2 separate regions of the Homo sapiens genome follow, and region 1 is linked to region 2. The links are contacts of gene promoters, found by promoter capture Hi-C in human tissues and cell types (Jung and others, 2019). All regions are on one chromosome and are shown on one strand. The core of a region is centred on a gene start or on the middle of the fragment in contact, and the rest is flanking DNA. Distances in the headings are between cores, read along the strand shown. Region 1 overlaps BEST3 (bestrophin 3). Region 2 holds the start of BEST3 (bestrophin 3).

Evidence for each region. Contacts are between HindIII fragments. The study calls those that stand out against the background at their distance.
Region 1: a fragment that was not itself captured here is called in contact with the fragment with the promoter of BEST3 in region 2 in 1 of the 25 tissues and cell types used here (aorta).

Annotation. Positions count from the first base shown.
Region 1 is chr12:69,649,810-69,656,107 of GRCh38, reverse strand. BEST3 (bestrophin 3) reads left to right here. Exons shown (of 10, transcript NM_032735.3): 10 at 295-2,499. The coding sequence ends at 1,201. The region is part of intron 3 of LOC105369823 (a long non-coding RNA gene); the gene reads right to left. Among named protein-coding and RNA genes, the nearest start is that of LRRC10, 42 kb to the right of the region's middle. The HindIII fragment of the contact is 6,699 bases long and covers 1-5,524 here.
Region 2 is chr12:69,695,091-69,701,680 of GRCh38, reverse strand. BEST3 (bestrophin 3) reads left to right here and starts at 2,378. Exons shown (of 10, transcript NM_032735.3): 1 at 2,378-2,476; 2 at 3,868-4,034. The coding sequence starts at 3,883. The HindIII fragment of the contact is 5,542 bases long and covers 1-3,756 here.

The sequences.
Region 1 (6,298 bases), core at 926-3,425, 45 kb after region 2:
TACGTGCTTGTGTTTCAGACATTCCACAGTTATAATTTTAAATACAGTAAAGAGTAATAGATATAACCCACATAAGCAAATCTCTTTGGGATACGCAATAATTTTTAAGAGTTTAAAAGGGATCTGAGATCAAAAAGTGTGTGAGCCTCTGCTAGACTATCTCAAGTCCTCAAACCCCCATTTAAAAAATCTATAAGGCAAAAATACCAAAGTCATCTCTTAACTTTGAGACTCTGCCCCCAAAGCTAGGCCCCCGAAGCTACTCTGCCTGGATCTTGTCATTGTGTGTTTCAGGCTGTCTGGGTCCGACTTTCCTGACGAGGAGTGGCTGTGGGATTATGAGAAGCATGGCCATCGGCATTCCATGATAAGAAGAGTCAAGCGGTTCCTGAGTGCCCACGAACACCCCTCCAGCCCCAGAAGAAGAAGCTACAGGAGGCAGACAAGTGACAGCTCCATGTTCTTACCCCGAGATGACCTCAGCCCAGCCAGGGACCTACTGGATGTGCCCTCAAGAAACCCCCCCAGGGCCTCACCCACCTGGAAGAAATCCTGCTTCCCAGAAGGAAGCCCCACGCTGCACTTCAGCATGGGAGAGCTGTCCACCATCAGGGAGACCAGCCAGACAAGCACTTTACAGAGCCTGACCCCACAGTCCAGTGTGAGAACTTCCCCCATCAAAATGCCACTGGTACCTGAGGTATTGATCACAGCAGCCGAAGCACCAGTGCCCACATCAGGGGGCTACCACCATGATTCCGCTACCTCCATCTTGAGCTCTGAGTTTACAGGGGTTCAGCCAAGCAAGACTGAGCAGCAGCAGGGCCCCATGGGATCCATCCTGTCTCCCTCAGAGAAGGAGACACCTCCTGGAGGCCCCAGTCCCCAGACAGTTTCAGCCAGCGCTGAGGAAAATATATTCAACTGTGAAGAAGACCCTGGTGATACCTTTCTAAAAAGGTGGAGTCTTCCGGGATTCCTGGGGTCCAGCCACACTTCCCTGGGAAACCTAAGTCCAGACCCCATGAGCTCTCAGCCAGCTCTTTTAATTGACACAGAAACATCCTCAGAGATCAGTGGGATCAACATTGTGGCTGGCTCTCGAGTCTCTTCTGATATGCTGTATTTAATGGAAAACCTGGACACCAAGGAAACAGATATCATAGAGCTGAACAAGGAAACTGAGGAATCACCCAAATGAGTGCCACCAAGTTCTAGGACCTGGTTCTAGCCTAGATTCTTACCTCCCCAAAAGCAGCATATTAGGCCCAGGACATACCTGAAGGCTGGTCGACTTTTTAAAAAACATGATCACACTGTATAAGCTACTTAGAACTTTGAAGGGCATTATGATCCTGACTTTTTGAGAGCTGCGAAAAATCAAACGCATTCACGTCATCCAACACAACATGGCTTTCATCAGAAGTTACACAGACCACAGTGATTTAGCCAAATAAGTCTTAACCAAAAAAAGGAATCTGAAAAACATACATGACTTATAAATTCATAGATTATTAGTTGTGGAAAGAGTCTCATAGATCATAGTCCAATCCCCTAGACCCAAAGGCCCAGACACGCAGGGTTCTCTATTTCTCTTCTTTTTTCTCTTTCTTTTTTTCTTTAGCCATAAAGAAAGGAGATGGATCACCTAATGCCTGAAAGATCCCCTCCTTCCTAACGTTTTTGTTTGAGGCTTTCTAACCATCTCATTCCTACTTTTATAACTATTATTGTTATTATCACTTCCTGATTCTTAAGCTTCATCAGCACCAGAACACTTAATTCTCTTCAATTTCCTTTTTTACTTTTCTCTCTTTTCCTTTTATTCTGTCATCCTTTTTTTCCCTTCCCTTCTCCCTGGTTGTGCTGCTTTTCTAGTAATCTGTCCCATTTTTCAGGTTATAATATTTCCTCTTGCCAAATCTGTTGCTTATGTCTTGCCATGAATTTCAAAATATAAGACATTGGCAAAGCCTCCTACAGAATCATCAAAGGTGTCAACAAATCCAGCCTGATACCCTTCCAGTCTCACTTCCAGTGGAAGGCATATAGGAGTGATGGTTCCCCCCGTGCCCTTGCAGCCATTGACATTTCTTTCTGCTTCCACTATTTGGTGTTGGGCACTGGAGAAAAACGAAGCCAAGAGAATATGAAATTTGCATAGCCAAATGCTATGGAACCAAAGAATAAGATGACTCACATCTGTTTAACTTGAACTCTTATGCAAAAATCCTAATCGTGTCGCAACACGGGACCAGTTACTGTGTCTATCGGGTCATTTGGGAATGGGCAGGATACTGGAGCTGGGAGGCTAATGGGGTCCAGAGCTGCATAATGGGGATCGGATGTTGGTACTCCTCCCAGGGAGCTCTCAGGACAGCTGTTTGTCGTGGGCTCCCAAGTGCCTAGGCCATGCCTTACGACTGCTGCACTTACCATTTGTCATATGATGGCACTTGACTACATATGGCTTTAGAAATAAAATAACCCTCAAAACTACCATTTATTGAGTGCTTACACTGTTCCAGGCAGCAGCGAATCTTATGAGACTGATATACTGTTATTTCCATTTTAAAGACGAGAGAAACAGGCTTTAGAGAAGTAAGGTATTTGCCTAAAATCACATAGCCGAGAAGTGACAGTGTTCATCTTCAAACCCAGGTTTATCTGACTCAAGAGCCCACACTGTTAACCACTATGCTTTCTCACTGCCCTGTGCTATGTGTAAGGCCCTGAATCTGCCAGCAATTTGCCCAGCATTCTGGAGGATGCCCCAAGGGAGGCATGCCCAACTCACAGATTCAGGCTAAATCTCTCCAGCCTCAAGGGCCTCTCTGGGTCCTCCCCGCTCAAGTCTACCTGCGTCTTTTATGCATTCATAGAGAAGGGCATTGCTCCAGCTTGGAGTACCACCCATAGTCCTCTTCATTTTTCATGACAGAAAAAAGTTGGCAGGACCCTCCTTCCCTTCACCAACTCCTCCTGATACGCAATGTTCAAATTAGCACATTTTCACAAGACCTCATATCTCCCAGGCCTCCAAGCTGCATGACAACAATGACATTTACTTTAACTGACTTTTCTCAAAGGACTGAAAAGAAATAATATTAGAGGAAATGCTATACCTTGATGGTTCTCTATGTTGGTTGGTAGTGTTAGCATCTGGGAAAGCCCCGTTATTCCCAAAGCACTACGTATAGACTATGGGATCAAGAGCCAATATAACACTTCTAGAAGGCAGGATCCCTAACCTTCTCCCAGTCACCAGGCTCTTAATGCTATTTTCTTGGGTATTTCAATTTCAGTCTGTCTATTCTCTTCTCTTTAGCTCTGTCTGTTGCTCAAATTCAAGTAAGTTTCTACTTAGCTGCTTTTGAAACATAATCAGTTTTCATTCCTAAATCCAAGGTGATAAATTATACACAAATATAATAATACATTTATGAAGGGCTGGCAGTGTTCATTTATCTCTGCTTCCACACGCCCCTTATGCACTTTTATCCAGATAATTTTTTAATTTCCTCAATATTTCTTCAAAATTTGAGATAGACTCTCATTTTCTTCTTGCAATGAAAACTAAATTATGACATGCTCAATGAGCCCGTGTGGTTGAATTCAGCTATAAAATCAAACCAGCAATTGCTCAGAGCAGATGAAGAAATTCTCTATTAATTCTAAAATGAGTTTTTACTCAACACAGACCACGGTTGAAAAAAACAAAATGATTTCTTCTCATGTACCTGATTTCATTGCCTGCCTAGCTCCTTTTTCCCTGAGTCCTGGAACCTTCACCCACCTGGATGAATGGTCACATGGCCTGGTGGCTTAATCTTTTGAGTTTGCCCATTCCAAGAACAGGCTCAACTCTCTCACATTAAATGTGATCCAAAAGCCAGAGAGTGCGGTGAGGCCAAGCTCTATTTGTTGCGTTCTCTCCCTGCTTTGTAGAGATAACTCTGCCCTGATGCTGGGGTTTGTAGTTCAGTAAGGAAATGGCCCACTAACTTTTTCTCAATTTTCCAAGAATTTTAGAGAATGACTGGCACCCAGCAAAACAAAGAAGGCTGTTATCTCCCCTTCCTTTATTGTCCTGTCTACTTCATGGTGTATCGCCTCCACCACTCCAGACATCCACTTTCAGCCTGGTTCAGCTAAGCTATGGAAAATATTTTAAATGGAATGGAGAAATGTAAAATTTGCCATGAAAGTAAAGATTTGTTTAAATCTTAGAAATACTCCTCTTGTTTTTGGTGTTTTCGCCTCTAGCTTCCTTCTTCTCCAGAAAAATCAATTCAATTTTTTTCTTTCTTTTTTTTTTTTTCTTTTTTTTTTGAGACAGAGTCTCACTTTGTCGCCCAGAGCTGGAGTGCAGTGGCACAATCTCTGCTCACTGCAACCTCCACCTCCTGGGTTTAAGCAATTCTCCTGCCTCAGTCTCCCGAGTAGCTTGGATTACAGGGACCCGCCATCACACCTGGCTAATTTTTTTGTATTTTTAGTAGAGACAGGGTTTCACCATGTTGGCCAGGCTGGTCTTGAACTCCTGACCTCAAGTGATCCACCCATCTTGGCCTCCCAAAGTGCTGGGATTATAGGCATGAGCCACCACACCCTGTTTGATTCCATTTTAAGTCATTTTTCTGAGCTCTTAATGTCATAAAATCTACTCTCTGAGAATCTACTGAGCCCAAGTGGCCATGAGTTATAATGGGATAAGGAAAACCAGTGTTTTCCTTTACAAATTTGAACAAGTCTGCGTTCTTCTGAACTTCTTATTCTCATCTATAAAATGGGCTCTTTTCTGGCTCATTTCACTTGCCCTTCATGAGGCATCGTGAGAGGAGGCTGGGAATGCAGCAGCACTGTATGGATGGCAAGCATGACTGGGGATTAATGTTCCCATGGATTCACTATGAACTTCAGAAAAAGCCCTTCCTCTCTTCCTCATTTAGTCACTTGTTTGCCAGGATCTACTTATTCTACAGGATTCTAGCCTCTTTCATTCAGGAAGCTTTCCTTCTTTTTTTAGAGACAAGTCCTGCTATGTTGCCCAGGCTGGCCTTGAACTCCCTAGCTCAAGAGATCTGCCTGTCTCAGCCTCCGGAGAAGCTGGGGCTTACAGACATGCACCACTGTGCCTGGCTCAGAAAACTTTTCTTCTAAGACACACACCATTAAGCTTCCAAATTATTAATCTAGTCATTTCTCTCTTGGTTTTTTTTTCCTTTCATATGCTTCCCAACTCCTCCCACATCTTCTTTCTCTGCAGTGTTTTTTGTCATAGTTCTTCACTGTCCACCATATCCCAGGCCTCATCACCATGGCAATGAATTCCTCCTCTAACCCATTATGTGTCTCCATCCCCTCAATCAAAACATGGAACTGGAGAAAAGTAGTTGCTTCTGTTTTCTCCACTATAAATCTAGAGGATTTAGAACCCCTGGTTCAAAGTTAGAAGACCCTCTTGAGGTATCTAATCTCCCTAAACCTGGTCCTGGATCAGTTAATTAGAAAGAACAACTACAACTGTAAAAACTCCTAAGCAAGAGCAGGTTGAAACCTAATTCCCCCTGCCCCTCTCTTATCACAATCATCTACATGATCAACAACAAACATTTTCTGATGTGCTGGGCTATTAACAGTAACAACCAAGGATTTCCTCATTTTGTCTTGTTGAACTATGTCAGATAGGTCCTCAATACTTTTGCATGCTTTTTTGTTTTTTTAGTTCTATGGACCTTAATTTTTGGGACAGGCTTTTCCACTCATGTGGCCACTGAGTCGAAAGAACCAATTCAAGAATACCAGGATCATTCTCTTTTTGCAAATTTACAAAACCCAGAAAAAATATTCCTATTCACTGGCAAAGCTTGAGAGACAGAATCCTAACAAACATTCACCTCTCTCCAAACTCTCTCTCTTCATCACCTCCACCTGTGCAGTCAGCTCATGCCTGGCCATGGCAAATGGAAAATGCACCAATTTCCCTGTAAAATAGAGACCCAAAAACCACATTTGCTCAAATAATTAATTCAGTTTGGAGATTACGTTTTTGTGTTTTATTTTGTTTTGTCTCTGAGTTAATTCAGAAAGTGGACTCAAACCTTCCTTTTGCCACAGGTAGATGTGGCCAGGTGGTTACCTAGAATCATCTCTGATCTTCTAATTTTAGACATTTGCCAGAAGCAGCAAAGGGAATGTTGTATCTTGTATCCAGAAAACAAATAAGAACGTTTCTAAAATGGGTTTTGCACAAAAGCGCTGGTGCGTTCCAGGTTTTTTGTCTAGGCCAGTGGCT
Region 2 (6,590 bases), core at 1,129-3,628:
CATTATTCACAGGGCTCCATACTGGAATTATGAACAGGGATGGGGGCAAGAAATTAAAAAGATACCTACAGCCCTGGCTTTGCTCTAATCTAAGGTACCTAGAATTTGATAAAGAATCCAGCGAAATGCATATAAAACTTACTGTTTTAGAAAAATTTAATTATATGTAATCTTAATTTTAGAATAAGCATTTTTTTCTATATCTTTCTCCACAAAAATACATTTTCTTTAAGTTAAGGTGCAAGGGTGCACAAGTTACTTTAGAAGGTTGGAAAAGTCCCAGGAATTGGCCCTGAAATTATTTATTTTATTACTTAAAGAACGCTGGTGAATTCTCTCTTTTAAGAAAGAAAATATGGGGCTGGGCGCGATGGCTCACGCCTATAATTCCAGCACTTTGGGAGGCTGAGGAGGGCGAATCACCAGGTCAGGAGTTCAAGACCAGCCTGACCAATATGGTGAAACTCCCTCTCTACCAAAAATACAAAAATTAGCCAGGTGTGGTGGGACACGCCTGTAGTCCCAGCTACTCGGGAGGCTAAGGCAGGAGAATTGCATGAACCCAGGAGGCAGAGGTTGCAGTGAGCCAAGATTGTGCCATTGCACTCCAGCCTAAGCGACAGAGTGAGACTGTGTCTCAAAAAAAGAAAGAAAGAAAGAAGAGAGAGAGAGAGAGGGAGGGAGGGAGGGAGGGAAGGAAGGAAGGAAGGAAGGAACGAAGGAAGGAACGAAGGAAGGAAGGAAGGAAGGAAGGAAGGAAGGAAGGAAGGAAGGAAGGAAGGAAGGAAGGAAAAGAAAAGAAAGAAACTATGCGCCGGGTGTGGTGGGCTCACACCTGTAATCCCAGCACTTTGAGAGGCCGAGGCAGGCATATCACCTGAGGTCGGGGGTTCAAGACCAGACTGACCAACATGGAGAAACCCTGTCTCTACTAAAAATACAAAATTAGCTGGGCATGGTGGCGCATGCCTGTAATCCCAGCTACTCAGGAGGCTGAGGCAGGAGAATCGCTTGAACCCGGGAGGCGGAGGTTGCAGTGCACCGTGATCGGCACCATTGCACTCCAGCCTGGGCAAGAAGAGCAAAGCTCCATCTCAAAAAAAAAAAGAAAAAATTTCCTAGCTGACCATGGAAGGATAACAAATGTGATGAATCTGGCCGGGTGCGTTGCCTCACGCCTGTAATCCCAGCATTTTGGAAGGCCGAGGCAGGCAGATCACTTGAGGTAAGGAGCTCGAGATCAGCCTGGCCAACATGGTGAAGCCTCATCTCTACCAAAAATATAAAAAATTAGCCGGTGTGATGGTGTGCACCTGTAATCCCAGCTACTTGGGAGGCTGAGGGAGGAAAATCGCTTGAACCCGGGAGGTGAGGTTGCAGTGAGCCAAGATCGTGCCACTGCACTCCAGCCTGGGCGACAGAGCGAGACTCCATCTTAAAAGAAAAAAAATGTGATGAATCCATGTGTTATTATTTCCCACTACACTAAGCCATCAATATATCATGATTCTCTATGTGTTCTTCTAACACACAAACACACACCACACACACACTAACACATAATCGTTGCTTTTAATTGAAGAACATTTTCAACACCTCTCAAGTGGCAAAAATCCTGTTTATATTCTTGTCTGCCCCAGTTTATGGCTTCATAAGAATTTTTTCATCTGTTTTTTGAGGCAGAGTCTCGCTCTGTCGCCCAGGCTGGAGTGCAGTGGTGTGATCTCAGCTCACTGCAACCTCCGCCTCCTGGGTTCCAGTGATTCTCCAGCCTTAACCTCCCAAGTAGGTGGGATTGCAGGAGCCCACCGCCAGACCCAGCTAATTTTTGTATTTTTAGTAGAGACAGCGTTTCACCATGTTGGCCAGGCTGGTCTCGAACTCCTGACCTCAGGTGATCTGCCTGCCTCAGCCTCCCAAAGTGCTAGGATTACAGGTGTGGGCCACCGCGTTCCAGCCCAGTTTTAAGAATTTAATCTTCATTTCAAGCACAAAAAGACTTTTTTTTTTTTTTTTTGGCTGGTGGGGCCTCTTTTTTGAACTCTTTAGGGCCAAATCAACCTTTCTTCCTTGATCCCAGGGTGGAGTCAAATGAATCTAACAGACAAACGGCCCAACATCCTTCATGTCACTGCCAACTTCTCATTCAAAGGGGTACTTGGGGTGGCAGGTGGAGTTATAATTATAGCTTAGAAAAAAGCAGCATCAGCAGCTGTTGCTTCTGTTTGTTCCCAGCTATAACTGTCATCAGTGGCTAAACTGGCATAAACAGGCCTCTACAAGTGGAAAAACATTTAACCCCTGTTCTTGTCACACTCTGGGTCCTCTCAGTGGCCAGAGAACAGAAAGAAAATCTGACTGTGCACGAGCGAAGGGTGACACCGGGCGTGCAGCACCGACCTGAAGGCACCTCTTCGGGGGAGCCCGAAATTTGAAGATTCTCTTTCCTGTCGGAGACTACAAACCAAATAAATAGGTTAGTGCCCAGAGTAAACCTATGCATTTTAATTCTGACCTCTACTTGCTGTGATTTTCATTTTCCTGGCAGAGCTTGAAAAGAAGAGTGAACTACTAAATGAAAGAAAGGAAAGTTAATTAAGGACTGTTATTTAAAACTACCGGGAGTCCATGAGAACAAATTATGAAATGGGTTTAATTTATTATGCTCCTCTCCCAATTTTGGCTGTATTCGCACTAGGCAAATAGACAAGGTAAAGATGGAAAAATAAAACCGGTTTTGTGGCATGAGTCCCATCCTTTTGTAATGCCACTTACTTGTGCCAAAAGGCCCTACCTTCTTTATTAAAATCAGTAATGTTGAAAGCTAAGTTTGTGATTTTAGAAAATGCTGTAAACGTAGCTCCAGAGTTTCATTTCCTTAGGGAAAATAGGCAAATCAGAGTTGAATTGTTTTTCCAGCAATGAGTAAAGATAGAAAATTTTCTTGTTTATGATAAAATGTGTGGTGTAGGCTACTTTACAAAAGAAATCTGCTACAGAATTTATTTTTTGTGTCTAGTACAATTCTATCTAAAAGCTTCATGATTTCAGTCTAAGTAGCTCTATAAGACTCTCCTCATAGATCCTTTTGAGAAAAGTAAGATTTTAAATAAATCTCATTTTATTTGCATATGTTCTATCTTAGCCAGAAATTGAGCAAGATTTTCAAAGATTAGCTTTGCGCTGTCTGTTTCAAAACCTGAATATTTAATGTCTTGGTGAAAAGTGGTGGAATTCCAAAGAACTCACCAAAAACAAGGCTTTTGGGCCCAGTGCTCATCCTAACCACATTCATGAAATGGACTCAAGTAGAAAGAGTTGTAAATAATGACCTCATTTTGTTCAACTCCAAAGAGAATGTGAACCATCCCTAAGCATTTATGTACAACTTGTCATGGGGAAACTGCACCATTCTTATTTATCACTATGACCCAACTTTTTGGCTGACTTTTGAAATGCAATGAGTGCTAACGATGCATTTGGACCTCCACTAGAGAGACATCTACATGCAATCAAACCCACCAAAAGTGCCCCATCAATTAAATTCTCACGAGGGCCTTGTTTGTCTCATTTGTTCATTCAAATATATATTGGCCAATGGCTATATAATCTAAAAATAATATTTAACAGTTAAGGCAAGTTTAAGATGTCTAATATTACTCTTCCCAGAGACTGCTTTCCTCCTGCTTTCTGCTAAACTGAGATAATGGTTATCTGAAAGTTCCGAATTATAGAAACTAAGAAAGACAAAACAGAGATATGGCTGACTAGTTGCTGGCTTGAATTTCCTTGATATACAGACATACAGATTTATGCCCTATTTTAAACATTGCTTTTTACTTGTGTTTTGTCTTCTTGCTCTTCTAGAAAAAACTATCCAAGATGACTGTCACTTACTCCAGTAAAGTAGCAAATGCAACTTTTTTTGGATTTCATAGGTTACTCCTCAAGTGGAGAGGCAGCATCTACAAACTACTGTACAGGGAATTTATTGTTTTTGCTGTTCTTTATACAGCAATAAGTTTGGTATACAGGTACTTTTCTTTACATGTCTCCTTAAATGGCCATCAGATATTGTGTAAGATACAGTCTCAAAAATCTGAACCTTTTGATTGCCACTGACTTCGCATTATGGAACTCCTTTTTTGCGTGAGCCTCTCATTTGTCTTCTTCCCCTCAGGACAGATTTTAATCCACCACTAACCATTGTTAGGTTGTAAAATAGACCCTCACTGTTAAGATTCAGGTGGCCTTCATTCCAGCCCCAGTTGTGCCTCGAGACTGTTGCAATAGGCACAAAATGGAAGGATTATCCTTAGATCTTTACTGTGTAAAGACTTTTGAATGGGCAAAGTCCACAGACAATAATTATTTGTGCTTCTGTCAACTTGTCATTCATAGTTGATGATTTGACAGCTTGTAGCAACTACCTATATAATCAACATGTTCATGATTGGTGTATGTCAGGGAAAAGCTTTCCTTCTTTTGGCCTGGAATGAAAATATCTTATCCAGGATGATGCCTGCCACACTTAACAGTACCTCAACTAAAGCAAAGGCCTGTAGAATAATTTATTTTCTTTCCGTTTTCTGAGTTGAGGGTATATTATGTTCACAAAAGGAGGTGCTTATTCTTTATAACATTACAACATATGCCTGTCAGATTGACAGGAAATTTGAGCAATATCAAGTCCAAGAAATATTTTTATGATGAAAAGTTATAGTCTTAATAAAATTTCATCAGTATGATAAAAGGGAAGACTTATGAGATTTTAAAGCTTTTTTTATTAAAATTGAATGCATAAATTTCTTCTCTGGAGGAAGCTAAAATTTAAAACAGGAAAGCTAAAGGTTTTTGAGGCTGTATTTCCATTTTTTCTATGTTCATAGTTTGTTATTTTTCTTCTGCATACAGATAAACAAATTTGTGTTTCATTGCTCTCACATTCTTCCTTGCAGCAACAGGATCTCCTTTGGAAAAGAGGGATATTAATGTAGTTGACTGATAATTATTAAAAGTAAAATAGGTACAGCTATTTTTCCACATGTCAAAACAACCCTTCCAAGCAAGTGTATGCATTGGTATATATCTTGACAAAATATTTTTAGAGGGAAAGTCCTATTAACAACCTCTAATAATTTTTCAGACATGTCATATAATATGATATTATTTTGGCAATTTAGGTAGGTATCACCTAAGCCTTCAGAATATGAAATGGTAAAAGATACAATGGTGTTTCGTGATAATTATCTCATTAGTTCATTTTTACTAATGTGAATTTATTGCTGCTACTTCTGCTAAGAATAGAACAGAATAGCCCTTAGTACAGTTGCAATGTAGCTAGAAATGTTCCTTGGGGCCTCAACTTTTGTTCCAATATCATACTTATACCCCACAACATTTTATGCATATATTTCTTCTAAAGCAGAGGGCTTACATTTATAACAAAAATTATCAGTTCAAGTCATCCTTAAATTTTTAAAGTTCAATTGTAATACCTTATTAAAATAGATCTTTCTATCTTAATCAAAGGTATACCAAGAACTATAGGATGAGTTTGTCAAGAAAATCAAACACATCTATAGAAAAATATAGATGTAGTTTCATTCTCTAAGTCTTTATTAGCTCTATTATAGGTACATAATTATTCCTAACAAAAATTATAAGGAGGAACCAGATTCATTAATTTGATTACATTTATTTCTATTTTTGGAGGAATTTGACAAAATAATTTCTGAAATACTTTCTAGCTATTAAAATTTCTACATCTATTAGCCAAATATTTTTTCTTTGGCCAACTATTAATATGAACCATTTTATTATTAACTAAGTATGAGGCAATTTGTTAAGTGGTTATATATATGTATACATATATTATTTAATCTTTACAATGCCTCTTATATATAGATATTTTTATCCCCACTTACAGATGAGAAAACTGAGACTCAGAGAGTTCAAAAATATGCTCAAAGTCCAAATTCATAAGTGTCAGACTTGGAATTAAAATCTGGCTTTGTCTGACCTTAAAAAAGGTCCATGCTTTCCACATTTAAATCCTCTTTGACCATGTCTATTTGAACATCAGAAACCATTCTGGCTGTAATTGTCATCAGCATAACCCTGATAGACCTCTGCAACAATCTGGTACCTCTCCTGTCAGCTTTCCCTGACTTCAGTAATTCTAACACCTCTTCCAAAGCTGGGGCAGGAACTCCAAGCTCACCCTGTACCCCACACACCTTCTTTGTCAGGACCAGCTCCCAACAGCTCTCTATCTGCAATCTAATTGGTTGCTTACTGTTATCTCATTATCCCTTTGCTTCCTTTATCAAAGTTCTACTGACCCAAATGAGCCTTTGATGCTTGTTATAATGGATCTTTCCTTGAGTTCCTTCCTCCTTTGGAACAGCTACACTCGTCGATTTATTCAAATTCATCTGTTTGGCTTTCCTTCCTGTATTTTGGTCATTATTATTAGTTTGCCTTAAAACATTTCTCCAGACTCTGAATCTCTTCCCTATAATGTAAATATCAATAATAGTCTCATTAAATGCACTTATGTTTAACAATACCAGAAAATGGGGTTTGGG